Regions from separate parts of the Homo sapiens genome. Here region 2 is linked to region 1. Evidence: promoter capture Hi-C in human tissues and cell types (Jung and others, 2019). All regions are on one chromosome and are shown on one strand. The core of a region is centred on a gene start or on the middle of the fragment in contact, and the rest is flanking DNA. Distances in the headings are between cores, read along the strand shown. Region 1 holds the start of DPYD (dihydropyrimidine dehydrogenase). Region 2 overlaps DPYD (dihydropyrimidine dehydrogenase).

Region 1 (6,402 bases), core at 2,757-5,256:
AGGGGACATTCATTCTAAAGGATGTTTTCCCCCACTTTAAGTTAGATAAGTCTATAAACTTTCCCCTTACACTGCATTTTACCCAAAATCTTTCATAGGCAATCATGCATTAATGACATTTTTCTAGAACGTGGGAACGTGGGCATTGAAAGATTATATCTTTAAATTTGTAATATTTAATTTATATGACACTGTTCAATTTACAAAATACTATTGCATATATTTTGACATCTGACTCTCATAGTAATCCATTCAGTTAAACCACTCATTTAAAATCACTAAGCGGCAATTTTTGTTTTTCATTTAGTGGCTAAAGGTTTGTGGTAACAGAGACAATGTCTCTATTGTCCACTGAGATGTCACTAATGCTTATGACAGTGTCTGAAACAATTGTACTCAATAAATAATTGCTAAATAAATTTATGGGAGAGGTTTGTAGTTTCTCTGTGTTATCTGTGCTTTTTATGGCATTTACATAATACATGCTGATATACTGCATATCTATATATGCAATATGATAGACATGTAGTTGAGCACATTATACTGTTTGTTCCATGAAATATGAACCAACGTATTCCTTTTGGTCTTTTTAACAGGAATGCTGGAAATATTTGGGCCTAACTGATCTTTAGTCATTATCCTACTGGTCAATATGGGTAGGAATTAATTTGGCCCTTGAAAATCAGACAGCGGAAAAAATGCACCTCATGATCATTCAGCCTCTGACTTTTTGGGAGGAAATCATTTTCAAAGAAATGTCCCCCACCAAAAAAAATCTCTTAATGCTACACTGCAAAGGGAAAATAAAGGCATATGGAAATCTGAATTTTTGTTGTGTTTCTAAATTTGTAATATTGAATAACTTTTTAGATGTGAAATTAAAGATGACTCATAAGTCCTACTTCTGACTTTGGTAGTAATAATATTCATTTATGTACTGTAAACTATTAGGTTCAAACATAAGCTGTTTCTCCAAAGCCTACAAAAAATTAATGTGGAACACCTGATATTTCACTGTGCTTCCAGATGGAGGGACAGCTTGACAAACGCCATCATAATTTACAACTTTTAAAAAGTGTGGTGCAAATGCATTTGCAGTAAAAGCTTTAAACAGCTTGCATTATTTACAGGTACAACTGTGCTTAATGTGCAATTTCAATGAATTTAAAATATTATTAGATTAAATCACTGATCACAGAGCATAGGTGTGGCACGTGAGCAATGTGATTAGATGCCTTAATTAATATGTCAGAACAGGATACATCTGTTTGATGAAGTTGGGGGGGATGGTAAATAGCATTTAAATTTTATATTTGATTATTGACTATCACCGATGAAACTCTTATCTTTGGAAAACCACCGTATATTGGACTTATCCTCTATAGTTGTTTAGGAGAATTATAACAGAAAACGAATATGAAAATACACTGTATAACTCTTAAAGATAACTTGGATTCTTGTACACATAAATTAACTATCAATTGCTAACTGATAAGATGTATGTTAAAGTGTAACCTGAAAGAGCAATAAGCCTGTATCCCTGTAAGTTAGGAAATTGAACATTGAACCTGACTGATTAAATTGGGGAAGAAATCATATGTATTATAATTATATATATTATATTTGTAAATTTATATATGTTTATATGTGTATATCTTTTCTCAATATATACATATGTGTGTATATGTATGTATGTATTTGGGTGTTTATATGTGTATTTATATATATAGACTGATAGAAAAATAGATATAGATAGATTTATCTATCTCTCTATATCTCCAAGAGGATCTAGAGTAAGTGGGTAAGGTGTGGTTGTAGGGAGATGCAGGAACATCTGACTTTGGAACATTACTCCATGAAAAGATAAGTAGTTATTTTGACCCATTTTAACTACAAATTCATTGATAGATATTGTGACCTATTTCTCAGCAGTAAGTAGGACAATGAGAATATGTGATGCAGAGAAACTAAAGTTTCTAAAATGAACTGCCCAGTGTATAAACGAATGTACTCTGTTCATTCAATCACCAAGTGTTCTTGGTCTCTTATGCTTCAGTCCTGAGCTAGGAACTGAGTATCCAGTAAACAATAAAAGTACACATGGGCCCCCTCTTCCTGGAGCTTCCTCTCTAAATAGAAGACATATATTAAATGAATCACATTCAAATAAATATTTAAACAACATTTGAAAAGTCTATGAAGACGAAATATAATGAAAAAGACAGAGTGGGTGTAATTTTGTTGGTGATGGGGTTAGATCATAAAGGCTTCAGTGAGACCTAAATGATGAGTAGAAGGGGAAGAAGAGCTCCAAGTGGAGGGCAATGTGCAAAGGTAGAGAAGTGGATGGAGGATGAGAAGATTACCTTGTGGTTGGAACATAATGAGTCAGGGCAAGAGTGGCGGAGAAGCGGAGTAGAGCAGGTTATTCAGCGGTTACTAGGGAGTTTGTATTATATTCTGACTGCAATGGACCATTGAAGGATTTATACCATGGGTACCTGGGTGTGTGGATGTATCGTTGTATGGCATGAGCCAGTTAATACTTTCTAAAGCTCAATCTGGTATGGATATGAGGTAAGAATAGAAGCTAGAATACCAGTAGCTTGGACCATGGTGGATGCAGCAAAATGGAGAAATGAATGATTCAAAATCTATTTAGGAGGTTGACTTCTGAGAGTTTGGGCATAGATTAAATGAGGCAATAAGGATAAAGGAGTCAAAGATGATTCTAAGGTTTCCATTTAACTTTCTAGTGTCTGTTAATATTTGATTCAAGAAAAATGTATCTGTCTTTTAGTAATTTCCAGGTTCTGGAAGGTAATCTGATGGTTTGTTCAGAGAAGCCTTCTCAACCACGCAAGGTACCCATACCCTAGTTATTCTGTCCTATTTTTCTTTTATCTTACAAGCAGGCATCACATTTTCTTACTTGCTTATTTTGAGTATAATCTCCATGACAGTGATGTGTATTCTTGAAGACTATATCCGGAGAACCTAGCACAGTGTCTGTGTCTGGCATATTGAAAATGCTCAATAAACATATTCGTTGAATAAAACGATGAATGGACTAATGAAAAAATAATAAGGGAGAAATACTTGACTCCAAGGTGTCACTACCTAGCCAAGTGCATGAAGGAGTGCCGCAAATGTCCTAACGGAAGTAGAAAGTGTTATGGTAGAAGAGAGGTGGGATGCATCTAACAGGGGTGGGGGGGGGGCGGGGAGAAAAGGAGAGAGGTCTGGAGTACACATATCCTCAAAAAACGAGGTGAATGTTTTCTGGATTGGGACCAACTCTACAGGAAATCTCTCCCTTCTCCTCAGCAAGCTCTAGAGCAAAAACGAAGAGCAACTTTTCAAAAGAGTTTCACGTTTTAGAATAAAAAATATTTAAAAAAATAACCATTAAAATGAGACTTTCCTGCAAAAAGACAACCTTGATTATGTACCACCTGCAGCACTTCCTGTATGCTGCTGCGGGCTGTGGATGTTTTTGCTCGCCTCCCTCCCCTCCCCGCTGGGGCTGTGAACTCTCAGAAGACCGGTGCTTTGGTATCCTCCACTGCAGCTCAAACCCCGCCCACCTACTTGGTGGATGGATGGAGGAACATCTACTATTTCATCCTTGAGGAGTTCCTGAAAATGCAGTTGCCCCTCAAACAATGTATCTACATCTCGCGGGGTTTCTGTGGAAGAAAAGAAAAAGTGCAAGTTGTTGCTTGGAGCGCGGACTGCTTTTACCTTTGCCTGGGGATCCCTCCTATCTGGCCCCGCCTGCCTAGCTCTGTTTTTAGCAGTTTAGAGATTAAAGGCCAGTCCCCAGAGCGGGTGCTCTACTCCCTCCCTCCCTTCTGCTTGCAGGCTGGGGCGCGGAGCGGGCTGAACTGGGAAGGCCGGGCTGCGGCTGCCGTGCCTGGCGCGGGAGCCGCAGGACCGAGAGCGCAGCCCCGCCCCGGGGGCGTTGCCGCCCCGCGCCCGCTCCGCCCCCGCGCCGCCGGCCCTAGTCTGCCTGTTTTCGACTCGCGCTCCGGCTGCTGTCACTTGGCTCTCTGGCTGGAGCTTGAGGACGCAAGGAGGGTTTGTCACTGGCAGACTCGAGACTGTAGGCACTGCCATGGCCCCTGTGCTCAGTAAGGACTCGGCGGACATCGAGGTACGGACTTCGCGCCGGCTCGTCGGTGGTGGCGGGGTGGTGGGGAGTGCTCTGCGGGTAGGTGCCGGGGAGGCCCCCGCGGCCCCCGCACCCCGGAGAGTGAGAGACGCGGGAAAGTTTCCCCCGTGGGAGCTCTGCGGGGGAGCGGAGGAGCGCGGAGCCACAGGCCCGCGTGGGCAGGCGGGGAGCTCAGGGGAGGACTTTCCGCTACTGGAGGGGTTGCCCTTTGCGTCGGGACCTGTTTACTTCGGAAGAGATTTCAGGAAGCCTGTCTTGTCCTCCTCTGAATGTCAGTGACTGAAGAAGCACTGGAGTTCCAGAGAGGTGGACTCTAGGGGGTAGGAGTGCCCATTTCCCACACGTTCTACCCCTTCACCTCCTGTATGTCGTTTCTGGACACCTCCACTGCCCCCATTTCCAATAGCTGAATCCTGCTATTTGCAAAGGTGAAGCATAGAAATAAAACATCTGTGTGTCAGCTGTAGCAGTCGCCTCTAGTCATAGTATTGTTTATGAAATAATTTAACATGGAGAGAATGGAACGAAGTATTCAGAACATGAAAAATGCAGTGCCCTCAGAAAAACTAACTGTATTTTTCTCTCCTCTCAACGGTTTTTGATTCCCTCTTGCACTCCGTTTCTGTTAAAAAAAATCTTTTTTTATGTAAATAAGGTCCTACCTGAAACGACATGGCATTTCCTTTCTCTCTAGTATCTTAATATATGCGATGAAAAGGATTTAATTATCAACAGTGATTTTACACATACTAAACCTAGGTCAGCACTTTTGAGCTAAGACAAACTGATTTTTAGTTTTCTGTTTTGTTTGGGGCTTTTCTTTATTTGAGTCTTCTACTCTGGTAGAAAATTATGTGTGTGTGTGTTTTCTTTAGAAATAACAAAATTTTCCTTTCGTCAGTCCTTTTGGCGGCTTAAGTAAAAGTTTTGCAAACCACCTGTTTGCAAAATAGCTGCTTTTGCCACATTTTGCCTCCGTAATTGAAGAAACTTTATATTCTGGGAGGAAGTAGTCCTGTTTTCTCCAGGCTCCATAACTTGGTTTGAAAAATCATTTTAGTAACAAGAGCCAAAGTGTATTATGTGGACATCTCTGGTTAGTTTACTTTTGGTTTCTGTTTTGGAGAGTTGACTTTTTGATATTGAGCAATATGATATATTTAACAAATAGTTGTTCATCTGTGTGCAGGATAATAGATACTTGTCTTTTTCTATATTTCATTTAGGGTAGTCTATTCCTTTTTGGTCCTTGTGACTTTGACTTAACTTTTTAAAAAATTTTATTTACTAAGTCGAAAAACAAGCTTCTGACAGTATTAAGGCAGTATTGATTTAAGATATCGGAGTTGACTTAGGATGGGTGGCTTTTGGCTCTTTAATTTCAGAATGGTGTGTTATCTGCTTAACTGATTTCTTTCTCTGCAGTTGTCTTCGAAATCAGTTCTTACATTCTACTGAGGAGAAAGATGCCAGTGAAACATTGAATGCCAAGCTTGATTTCATATATTGTTTCAACTAAGAACATTTAAGAAGCCCATCCTTCCCACTCCCTCCACTCAATTCAACCTTAGTCTATATGGCCAGTTTGCCTAATATTACTTTTAATCTAGATTGCTGGTGTTCAAACACCTTCAGCTCTTATGTAGTTCATATGTGCAACACTTTAATCAGTAACATCTTTCATCACTCACAGCACCTTACTTTTCCCTCAAAGTAATACCCGTGATTCATGAGCTAGAATACCATGAAAGAGCATGAAATTAATCATTAAAATATAATGCAGTGAGGAAAAATACATTAAGCTTAGGGGAGCACATTCAAGCATAAATGCCTCAGTTGATCCTATTGATTTACCAAAGTTCATTTTTGTGTTGAAGAATTAGAATGAATTATAAAGGCTCAGTTTTCCATCAAATTTGAATGCTTTTCTTGAACAAATTCATTACAACCATTGTCTAGAGATCTGATTGTGATCATTGTTTTAGCTTCAAATACATGGATAAGCAAGTAATATTTTAAAAATATTGGTATGAAGCAGTTAATGAATGTGATAAGAACACATTGATAAATGTGAAAAGTACTTGACAATTGTTAAAAGAACAGAAGGTGATGATAACAACCTACTCTAATAGTGACTGACTTTTCCCTATGAGCTAACTACAGAACCTCAGGTTTCAGTGAAACAGCCAAGAAATATCTTTGTTTCTGGGGGAAAAGTTATTGAGGTA
Region 2 (6,402 bases), core at 1,040-3,539, 410 kb after region 1:
CATAGTAGCACTTTTGTGAATAAAAGAAAAAATATATAAGAAGCTGTATTTCTCATTTGAAAGAATTGTGTCTGTGTGTGTGTGTGTGTATTTTATTATTGTTTGCTTTGTTGTGTTTGGTTTTTGTTTTGTTTTGAAGCTTAAGGAAAATCTTGCAAAATGTGTCCAAATCATTTTCTTTCTAAGTATTAAGGCAGCAATGTTCGTAAGAATTTCAAAGCAATTACTTATTTATTTAAAACTACATAAATTAAGCAATGCAAGTTGAACTACACATATATCTGCCTCCTTGGGCTGTTGCCTAATGCCATATATAGCTACAATTATGAACAAACCAAAATTCATCTGTAAGATTGAAAAAAATAGATATTTCAACACACAGCCATAAAAAGAGAAGAATACTTGTAAGTTCACTTATTTCACCTTGTAAAGTACAGACACATGGGACCATATGTAGTTATGCTATTGCCATCAAAGGCAAGTTGGCTCAACATTGTTTCTAAGACAGAGAAGTTGCTTCTATACTTTTACTGATATTAATCAACCTGTAGTGTCAGGAAATTCTTCTTTAGTCTAACCCTAAAACTTGCTTGATTGAATTTACATTATGATTACACAAAGCTAAGAAAATACCATCAAGCAAGGTTTCATAAATTAAGTACAAAGAGGCTGGTTAGTGGGACCAGGAGAAAAATTCTGAAATTATTCCCTTTTGTGTTTGAATTTCAGTATGTTTTAAATAAAGTTGTTTGTTTGTTTATTTAATTGATAATACTTTCCATACTTCCTTTGAAATTTAAAAAGGATGATATCGTATATATTCGGTTTACTGCTAACTGACTTTTTGCCAGTTTTTGTCATTGTTAACATCCATGCGTGGACAGATATACATACACACACCTCAAATTAACCTCCAATTTCCTATATTTTACATTGTAGCTTTTGTATTTGCTAATAATCCTTTTAATAGTATAGCAATCCTGTGTGAGGACAGAAAAATTATGTTCACACCCAGACTAACCAATATTCAGAAATGTGCCTTGAAGCCCAGAACATCCCTGGGAGAAGGTGCCTGCCATAGCTGAAGCCTGGATCCCATCAGGCATCTCTTTGCATGTACCAGAGACACATTAGTGTTTCAATTGACAAGTTTGATGCCTTTTTACATATTAAGTGAACTTTGCTTTGCATTGTAAGTGGTGGAGGGCCAGAAATAATTTCTATGCAAGTCATGGAAATCTTTATCTACACAAGACACACTCCTATAAAATTAAAGTTCTGCTCAAATAACTTTTCTTTTGAGTGATGATTCACAAGAGAATGGATTTCTACTTTTGAATTAACTAGCCCTGTCCATTCAGTAACTGCTTTGGCTGAGAAAATTCATCCTTTTTATATTTTCCAATGTTATTTGTCTTTTGGAGATAGAGAGAGAGAAGGGGAGGGAGGAATGGAGTGAGAGAGACACTTTACAAACAAAAGGCCTGATGCAATCTTTAATAACCTCCCCAGTCAGAAAAAGAGACAACATTTAGCAAGCACCTATGTATGATGTTTCAGTGTGCCATGTGCTAAGAGTAAGTGTTTTTATTAAATCATTCCAATAATCCTGCAAAGAAGCATTATTACCATGATCATTTAACAAAGGTAAATTTACAGTTTTGAGTGCCAGTCGAAGATTTTGACGTAAACTATTTGGGACCTATTTGGTTTCAGAAAAAAGAACAAACCCCCGTAATGCATGAGAACACTACCCACTTTCCAAATTAAATGTCTCCCTGCAGCTTATGATTTCCTGAATTTTCCAGTCTTCCTGTGAGGTAGAAATTAGGCAAGCAGCATTCCTGCTGCTATACTGAAAACTATAGAGAAGAAAAGACAGGGACTTATTAGTTCCCTTTCCTAAAATCGCCTAAACAGTAGTGAAATTACTGGAAATTGAATTTAGGCCTCCTGACTTGCCGTTGCCCATATCTCTGAGCACTAAAGGTATTTTCATAACTTAAGTACAAAGAGACTGGATTGGACCAGGGAGAAAAATTCTAAAATTATTCCCTTTTGTATTTGAATCTCAGTATGTTTTAAATACAGTTGTTTGTTGATTTAATTGATTTTATTTCTGCTAGTACTCTTCATACTGCCTTTGAAATTAAAAGGCCATATTATATGAATTCAGTTCACTGCTCACTGACTTTTTGCCAGTTTTTTTCATTGTAAACAGACTGTTGTAATCTATATTAATTCGGATGCTGTGTTGAAGTGATTTTTTTGGTAAAATATTATATGGACAATTTAGATGTAATATGAAACCAAGTATTGGTTTGTATTTTGCAGTCACAATATGGAGCTTCCGTTTCTGCCAAGCCTGAACTACCCCTCTTTTACACTCCTATTGATCTGGTGGACATTAGTGTAGAAATGGCCGGATTGAAGTTTATAAATCCTTTTGGTCTTGCTAGCGCAACTCCAGCCACCAGCACATCAATGATTCGAAGAGCTTTTGAAGCTGGATGGGGTTTTGCCCTCACCAAAACTTTCTCTCTTGATAAGGTAAGAAAATATTATTGAAGTCATATAGAAATGTCTATCATATATTTTAATTAAGGTATAAACATTATAATGGATTTTTTTTACTAAGAAATACTACTTATTAAACTATTTGACAAGACCTATCATTACACATTAATCTTTAGTTTCTTTCCTTCCTTTCTGTCCCATGGAAGAAGGGGCAGGCATATATTGCTCATTTAGTATTGTCTAGGAAGCAACAAAGATATAAATATTATGAAAGTGACTTTTTCATTTAATAATCTCAAACTCTTATTTTTGTATTATTAATTGTTTCATTATTTTTGGATGCCTCAGCTCAAAGATAGGGACACAATTGATTTGGTTTGCACAAAATTCTGGAATTCAATTTATGTTGAAAAGAATCTCAGTGTAACTTATTGGTATTGGTGATAAGATAGATTCTTTATAAATTTGGAATACAGAAACCTTTCTCAAAAACAAATACCCTGAGTTTCATTTAACATTATGACTTTGTACTTAACCAGAAGTGGACATCTTATACTTAGTAGGAAATAAACTACGTATTAAAGTTGAGATTGAGTCTTTAAAGTACACAAAGCATATAAATGCATGTTTTCAAAGTAAGATGCTTTATACAAGAGGATTGCATCCTTATATGGTTTTGAATTAGAAAAGAACAACAGACTTTAACATTTTTAGACCATTTATTGATAAATTACAAATGCTAAACCTCTCAATGTATTTAATACTAACTGGTAGTTAGTAATAATTAATGTATATGAATGTGTGAATTTAGTGACTAAGAAAAGAGTATCATTATTTGAATCAGCTTTATCCTTAGGCAAAGAAAATAATAGAGAACAAACATGCCCCATTAAGCACATTCTCTCTTTTTCCTCTTACTAGGATCAATAGCTGGCATTATTATGGCTAAAACATTAAGGCTGTCTTACTCTGACAGCTTTACAAGATGCAATGTGTAAGTGTGGTCAGGAAAATCTAGAGAATTCTCAAAAGTCAGAAAAAAAAACAGTGCAGGAAAAAAATCCTTCGTAAAGATTTTTTATATTTAAAGAGAAGTTATTTTTTCAAATAGATCAACTGAATATTTTATTAAACAAAGTGTGAAGCGTAACAGAATATACTAGATTCAGCTTTAGAATACCATGAATCAATTGTTTATAACCTTGTAGAATATTGATAGTATATTTGTCTTTGTTTCAATTGATTCGTTAAGAATTACTGAGAAGCTGTAATCAAATGTTTAATCTATTGGAGAAAACTGAGTCTCAGATAGCATATACTGACTATATTAGTTATGCTATTAAAAAACATATATGTAAACCGAAATAGGTGGCTAATTGGGCACAGGTGAAGAATTATAGCTGAAAAAAAGAGGTGTTTGCTGCTTTGAATTTGATGTTTTCTTCGCTTGCAATAATTGAATTCTGATTAATCAGAGACATCAGTCTTTACACTGTTGGTGACATGCATTGATTTGTGATGCTGTGTCTTTCAGTAACCTAGGAGCACTTGCCTTTATTAGGATCACCAGCAGAAATAAATGTGGAAGCTAACTTCCTTCTAAACCTCCAATTTGAATTTAATCTATCAATTTAGAAGTGTGTGATGCTGGTTCAAAAGGGGAGTTATGAACAAATGGAAATTAAATTTGGCACATGAAATGTAACCATGCGGGGTTTTTTGGAAACCCTATTTTACTTACTTTGATGGTGGGTACAACAAAATATTGTGCAGACTATTTTAAACATATTTCTGCAAATTGCAATGACAAAAATAATGAAGCCACCTTGGGCTTATGTAATGCCATTTTCAAAAAAGATTATTTTCCATACGTGATTTTGCAGAGTAGTCCGTTTGCCTCATAGAGGTCTACTTTTTTTGTTTCCTTATCTGGTTCCTAATTAGTGATTAAATTTGTGAATATATAATTACATCGTATGTGCTTATTTCTTATTTCTATGCTTTCCTATTGATGAAATGTTGGTAGTATACAACTCAGTAGTATGAACATACTTATTTCCCCACAGCCTTTTACTAAAGACGTCTATTAAAATATTACATGTACTATACATTTCGGTGACATTATAGTATACCAATTTAGATTAGCCTTATTATAATTTATTATGGCAATTGAAGAATCTATTTAAAATGAATTAAAATTCAGAATCTTGACATTTGAAATTTGGATGCTCTTAATATGACAAAGGTTATTCTATGGGGTTTTGTTATCATATGAAATATTAATATTTCACAATACAATTTTGATGAAGTACAATTTGCCAAGCTTGCATATGATAAAGAAATTAAATGCTTACCAAGGGAGTTCGGTGAAAATTAGAGCCCTGACTGAACATCTGCTAGAAATTTTATTATCCTGTCCTACTGACAGTGTGGCTCCCTCGTTGTTTTTCTGGATTGACAGCTGAATATTGCACTGATTTCTGCAGCAAATATGTTTGCGTGAACTTTGTTTCCCTTTTTTTATTTTTTTGGGAGTTTGGAACATGCTTTTGATTTTCATCCTGTATATATATATATATTTTATACTCTTGACATTTGTAGATGCCAGATTGAGGTCTAATATGCTGTAGCACCGATAGACCATTGACTTACAGTGAAATGCCAGTTGATATCTCAGTAAACAGAAATATTATTATTCTTTACTGTGCAGTCTATATAAAAGCTGTATGTGCTTTCTTTAGAAAGGCAAATGATCATATTTTTAATGTCAAATATGAAAAGATCTGTTTGCTTTTGTGTTAAATAACATCAAAAATGGCTTTTATTAACTATATTCTTCCTCTTCAAATCTGTCTTTCCAAGAATGTTTCAAAATAACAAGGTTGCTTTTCTTGAGATTCTATTTATGTTTTATAAAGATAGTAAAGTCATATTTAAAATATAGTTATGAAATCATTTTTCTATACAAATGTATATCGGCTCCAAGTTTAAATTTTGAAAGGTGGGAGAGAAATCGATCTGTCAAGCTTGATTAAAGCTAAATTATCATGACAAAACAGAGAAGTGATCTGTTTAAGAGGGAATATTAGAAATGGTTTGGACTTCACATAAAATAACCCCTTGACCTGTGTTCACATTATATTGATAGGAAGTAGATAAAAACATTTTGTTTTCATTAATTTTGTCCATAAATTTTGTTCTCTTGGAGAGCTACATATTATATACTGCAAATCTGTAACATGAAACTGCAAGTTGCATAGCTTTATTACTGCACAGATAAATAAACTAAGAAGTATTTATTTCTATCCTAAATCAAATCTAAACCCAAGCAACAGTTCACTTCACTTGTAAGCCCTTTCTATACATAGATTAACTTGTGATTAACTTTAATTATGAAAATATCTCAAATGAATAGATTTTGTTTTAATAAGTATCAAATTAGGTAAATAAGTATCCATGTAATAGGTCTCTCTTATAAAATGCTAAGAAGTAAAGACTGAAAATATTTAAGCCTCTTTTTTTGGCATCAAAGTATTTATGTAGCTGTTTCTGTAAAACACAACCTTATACCCCATAGCACAAAGCTTAATGTATAGGAGAGGCTTGATAAATGTTTCATAAATATTCGCTGGATAAATGAATACATAGATTTTTTTGGCAAGAGCATATCGAGTTTATTTTTTTCCCAGTATATGAACAGACAGTTAACACATAAAAGAATTGAATGTTTTGAGTATTGATCTCAATCGAAGGAGAAAAGGCCAATTAAAAAATTTTCATATTCTATGTTGCTTTTCTATAGTGCATCTATACGTGTCTAAAAATGAAAATGTCAGTGAAATTTCTGAATGTATAGATTGTGGTTTAAGACTTAGATTGTTGTAT

What was found. The method cuts DNA at HindIII sites, captures the fragments that hold promoters and counts their contacts. A contact is called where the count stands out against the background at its distance.
Region 2: a fragment that was not itself captured here is called in contact with the fragment with the promoter of DPYD in region 1 in 1 of the 25 tissues and cell types used here (dorsolateral prefrontal cortex).

What each region holds. Positions count from the first base shown.
Region 1 is chr1:97,918,638-97,925,039 of GRCh38, reverse strand. It overlaps DPYD (dihydropyrimidine dehydrogenase), which reads left to right and starts at 4,006. Exons shown (of 23, transcript NM_000110.4): 1 at 4,006-4,156. The coding sequence starts at 4,118. RefSeq lists a silencer at 3,801-4,200. The HindIII fragment of the contact is 7,083 bases long and covers 1-5,821 here.
Region 2 is chr1:97,511,874-97,518,275 of GRCh38, reverse strand. DPYD (dihydropyrimidine dehydrogenase) reads left to right here. Exons shown (of 23, transcript NM_000110.4): 13 at 2,335-2,550. Among named protein-coding and RNA genes, the nearest start is that of DPYD-AS2, 280 kb to the left of the region's middle. The HindIII fragment of the contact is 5,806 bases long and covers 1-5,192 here.